Regions from separate parts of the Homo sapiens genome. Here region 2 is linked to region 1. The links are contacts of gene promoters, found by promoter capture Hi-C in blood cells and fetal thymus (Javierre and others, 2016). All regions are on one chromosome and are shown on one strand. The core of a region is centred on a gene start or on the middle of the fragment in contact, and the rest is flanking DNA. Distances in the headings are between cores, read along the strand shown.

What was found. The method cuts DNA at HindIII sites, captures the fragments that hold promoters and counts their contacts. A CHiCAGO score of 5 or more calls a contact.
Region 2: a fragment that was not itself captured here is called in contact with the fragment with the promoter of SEM1 in region 1 in 2 of 17 cell types (M2 macrophages and M1 macrophages); the score reaches 6.8 in M2 macrophages.

What each region holds. Positions count from the first base shown.
Region 1 is chr7:96,708,552-96,711,251 of GRCh38, reverse strand. SEM1 (SEM1 26S proteasome subunit) reads left to right here and starts at 1,406. Exons shown (of 3, transcript NM_006304.2): 1 at 1,406-1,564. The coding sequence starts at 1,489. RefSeq lists enhancers at 1,132-1,221, 1,392-1,591. The HindIII fragment of the contact is 9,533 bases long and covers 1-2,700 here.
Region 2 is chr7:96,219,458-96,222,157 of GRCh38, reverse strand. The region is part of intron 4 of SLC25A13 (solute carrier family 25 member 13); the gene reads left to right. It overlaps MIR591 (microRNA 591), which reads left to right and starts at 2,402; the gene lies at 2,402-2,496. The HindIII fragment of the contact is 1,518 bases long and covers 561-2,078 here.

The sequences.
Region 1 (2,700 bases), core at 157-2,656:
TGCTAAGGATTGATACAAACTTCATCATATATCAAATGAAATAAATAATAGGTCCAGGAACTAAAATTTGGGTTTTCTGATTCCTTGGCAAAATCTTTTTTTTTTTACCTTCTTTAAAAAATTATTTTAATTGACAAATAAAAATTGCCTATATTTGGGAGCACATGTTTTAAAATACAAATACATTGTATAATGACTAAATCACACTAAATAAGATATGCATTACCTGACATAATTTTTTTGGTAGTGAGATACCATTATTTTCAGTAATCTATATAAATCAAATAGTATAAGAGATACATTTTTTAAAAATTTCATCTAATTGTAGTTCTTGGCCAAGTTTGTTCTACATTTAGTTATTCAATTTTCTGTATTCCCAAACACTCTGTTCATTTCTCACTAATATTAAGATGCAGATTCAAGTGGATTACTGTGTTTCATTGTGATTTATCTGTTTACATGTCTCTGAGCAGCATATAAGCTCCTTGAAGAAAGGGACCTTGTCTATACATGTTTGATGCACAGCTCCTGGTAAGCGGTATGACCTTACATTGTTGAATAAAGGAATGGCATTTATAGATATAATCTGGAACATGTATCAACATTTACAATAATACTCAATTTGTGTACGTATATTCCATAATATTCATCCATATACATCCATATATTATATATAGAGTTCCATGAAGTTCACTACTGTATTCAAAATGATATTCAAATGCTATTCAAACAATTCTAAATGATATATTTTGAACACCATAAAATGTTACACAAATCCATAAATAGCATTACTGTATAATAACCTGTAAACCAGAGTTACTACACACACATACACACCACACAAATTCTATTTAAAAAGCTATTTTACCACAAAGTAATTCTAAGACCTTATAAACACTGCCTAATGGAAAAGTCTGGAGATTGGAGCCAGGCAAAAAAATCTGCATTTCGGTTGTCTAGAACTACCTGAGTGACTTCGGCTGCTTCCTACCGAACCTGAATTTTCTGTGATGTGGAGACATTTAATACCACCTTTAGGGAACTGGCTTAAGGACTGGAGGTAATAACGTATGTGAAGGGCTGATGAATGTTTGCAGTCACACTGTAGTCTCTCTAGAGTTCCTTCCTCGGTTGCAAACTAAGGGTTTTTTTGTTTGTTTGTTTTACACATTATGAGTCTCTTATAGTCAGGAAAACTACACGGATCTCAACTTTGGCAATACAGAGAGTCCGAATAACAAGGTAGAGACCAAAAAAAAAAAAAAAAAAAAATCACCTCTACAACTCGGAAAAAGCGCTAACCCCGCAGGAAGCGCTGGGCCGACCTCCAGTATCCCAGCATTCCTCGCGCTGCTCCCGTATTCTTTCCCCAAGTCTCTATGGTAGCGTCAGCGTCGGAGGCGGTAGTGACGGTGGCGTTTCCTTGAGGAAGAGTGAGGGTTCCAACTTTTCTGCTTATCTGGGAGGTGTTGGGCGCGGACAGTCGAGATGTCAGAGAAAAAGCAGCCGGTAGACTTAGGTCTGTTAGAGGAAGACGACGAGTTTGAAGAGTTCCCTGCCGAAGGTAACCGCTGGGCCCCGGTTTCTGTGTCGCGCGAACGGTGACTCAGGCCTCCGTGTGGAGGTAGCTTGGGTGCTCGGGCCCAGCTGGGGGCACCGGCGGGAAGTTTGGACTCCCAGGGCCGGCACTCGAGGCGCTAACGCTCACCCCTCAGTGGCGCCCCAGATTCGGGTTTGGGGTGTTGCGCTGGGACTCACTGGTGAGGCCCAATGGCTTCGGCTTCCTCACTGGGAGGAGCCACCGTGAGTCTGGACCCATAGCCCCGCGTCTGTGATGGTTGGTCCATTTACTGTTCACCTGGGTTACTCACCACTTAAACTTAGTTCAAGTCTACATAACCTCCTTTTCTTTTTGTTTTAGCAGTCTTTCTTTGTCTTTAAACCTTTCCAGAATTGAATTGTCAGTAGTTACGCCAATGCTGCTTAACTTTTAGGATGTTACAAATGAAGCCTCATTAAGTAGGATAGGAGGGTAAGATACGGGGTGCTTAATACACATTATTGCCTCATTCCTGTTCCTCACCATTTTGATCACTTAACTGTGACCTAACTTAATGCTTTATAAGACCCTAAAACTTGCCGGGTGTGGTGGCTCACGCCTGTAATCGCAGCAGTTTGGGAGGAAGAGGCAGGAGGATCACATAAGGTCAGGAGTTCAAGACCAGCCTGGGCAACATAGCGAGACCCTGTCCCTACAAAAATAAAATATTTTTTTAAAAGAACCTAAACCTTACACATTTTTTTTTTTAGCTTCAAAACTAAAGACCTGGTTTTTTCATTGTAGATAATAGCAAATTGCTAACATTTATTGAGTGGCTGTTGTTTTCAGGAACTTGTCTAAGTGCTTTACTTGTAATAGCATATTCCACTTTCATAAATATAAGAAGTAGGCCTCAGTATTGCCATTCTTCAGATAAACTGAAGCTCGGAATGGTTAAGAAACCTTCTGATGTCTCATAACTAGTTAGAAATAATAGAACTGGAACTGGGAAACCTGGCCTGATTGACACCAAAGCTCTTAACTTCAGCTGTACTGCTTCTGTTTGTGAGATTGCTGTTGCCAGTTAGGTTTTCAAAATAGGCTGCTTTATTGGCTGATGGTTGATGAGTAGGATTTGTAAATATTTACCTTATAAGAAA
Region 2 (2,700 bases), core at 70-2,569, 490 kb after region 1:
TAATAAGTGGCATGTGGAAAAGGGCTCTCCTAAGAGAGAATCATAAAGCCTGGAACTTTTAATTTATTAAGGCTCTGAGAAGTCCTGCGGAAAAAATAAATCTATTTAACTTTGTTTAAATTGTAGTTTAGCAAACTTATTATATTTGCACCAACTTTTCTCTTGTGTCTCTCCCACTAAACAAAACCCACAGAACCGGGGCGATTTCTAAGCTAGTTAATTCTTAATTCTAAGCGAGTCCTCAGTTAGTTAATTCTCTGATGTGGATGTAATTGTTTGGAGGGACCCTTTCTGAGTTCAACTTAGATTGTGTCCAGGAACACCTGCTATGATGAAATTGGTGTGCTTTGGGAAAATGGGTAGGCTAGATGACATTAGGAAATGTGTGGAAACACCCACTCAGTCACTTCGATTCAGGTTGCAGAAAATGATGGGAGTTAAAAGTATGGAAATGAGAAGTTTCGAAGTTAAGCACTCAAATTTAATATTAAATATATAAAGCTAGAGGAATGCTGGTATTGGATTGGAAGAAGGCAGACTTTACCCATCATTTTTAAGCTTGCTGGAAAGGAAGGTCATTTGTTACTGTCTTTGTAAAGACACTTCGAAAATGAAATATTCGAAAAGATAGCTGAGGGAGAAGGTGGTGAAGAATCAGAAGAAACGTTACTTGGGGAAAGTTCTTCATTAATATTGGTTCTGATTTTGGTGTTTCACAAAAATAATGTGTCATTTTGATGAAAGAAAAATATTGCCCTGCAGTAGATTTGATTTTATTTTATGAGAGGTAAAGAGGGGGCTGAGTATATTCTCTTATACATGCTTACATCCCAAATAGAGAGTAAGAATTTCGAATAAGAACAGTATGAGTTTTGAAAGTAAATAGTCTCTATGTTGATAAGAATTGTGGCATGCCTGGGTACTGAGTATCTTTTCAGAGATCCTAGAGACTGTCCAGAAACTGTTCCAGTTCATTGGGTCAAAAATCCACTATTTACGAAAAGCTAAATACGGATTTGCACGATTGACCATAATGGCTTCAATTTTGAAAGATAGTAGTATCAGAGAGCACTTCCAGTTGGTGGGATAATTTAAGAATCGCCCGTGCTCAAATGGCTAAAATATTGTACTTTTTGCTACTTCATCACTCCATTTTAAAAATAGAGAGGGGGAGAAAAGAAGGCAGACCTGTTGAGAAGGTGGAAGAATGTCAGTTGGAGAGCAAATCAAAATAACCATGTGAAGCCACTCCTTAGTTAACTACTGCCTGAAGGTTAACTGTTCCTTAGAAGCCTGTCAGGGAGTGGAGAGACTGGACTGGGGGCTGCTGTCCCTGTGTGTGCATGTGCACCTGTGTGTTTGTGTGTGCATGTGTGTGTGTGTATGTGCATGTTCATGTGCATGCATGATGAAGGGTGAAGAGAACTTGTGAGTAGGAAAGAAGGTGTAGAGAACAGAAAGCTAACATAAAATCCTGAAACTTAGAGTCCTAGGAAAATTTGACTATTTTAAACTAACTGTACTGCTTATTTAAAGATAGGAAAATTATACCATTCTTCTTCTGGTATAAGAGAGAGATAAAAATACAGTTTTTCTAAATTGGAAAATTTGCTGTAATCTTGCTGCTAATGACTGATTTCTTCCAACAGTTGCAAGGCAGTTTTTGCTCTGATAGGTTGATAAAGGAAACAAAATCAAGAACATATTGGAAATTCTCAGAGAAAATTACAGTTTAGGTATATGTTGGGGGTGGATACTTAGACATTTTAATTGAAATAAAACAGTTTTATACTAATATGGGATCACTGTGGGTGTACATTTGTAGTACATCTGCTCTTGAAGCATTTAAGTAGGGTTAAATGTATGTTAATGCTTTTGCAAGAAAATTTTCGATAATATCCGTCTAAGGAAACTAGCTTAGGAAATAGGTTTTTGAAAACAATATAGATATTATATTTGCATTTAGAGAGTGAATTAGGACTCTGTAATGCTTTAAGAATTTTAAAACATTAGTTGTATTCTCTAGTGGTAATGAAAGTTAACAATAATTAACACACAGCAGATGATTAAAGCAAGCTTACACATCTGGAGAGTGGCCACAGTCTGCTATATGCCTCTAAACACCATTTTAATTGACCTACTTTTGATATTATGAAAGGCTAATAATGATTTATTCTACCCAGTTGAAAATACTTTTTCTAGCAGATAATTGGAAACATCTCAGTTGGCCCCTCTGTTGATTTAGTTAGTGTGTGTGACAGATGGTTAATATCTTACGCTAAATATCTGCCAGCCTTGAGCCATTTTGTTGTTGTTGTTGACTCACAGTCACTATGATGACTTAAATAGTGTATGAATCTTGAGAATTGATAGATCTGTCAGATTATAGAGGAGGAGGGAGTCTTATCAATGAGGTAGACCATGGGTTCTCATTGTAATAGTGTAGAATGTTGGTTAACTGTGGACTCCCTGGCTCTGTCTCAAATCTACTGATTCATAATTTTTGGGTGTGGGGCTTGGGAATGTGTTTTAAACAAGCTCTCCAAGGGAATGTAGTTCCTACTTCAAATGAACAATGGCTGAGTATAGTTTATGGCTTTCTTTCATGGATGAGGAAACAGGCCCAGAGGGGAAAAGGTGACTAGTTTCATAAGAATCACAACTTTGACTTCTGGCACTAGAAGGATAGGGTTCTTTCCT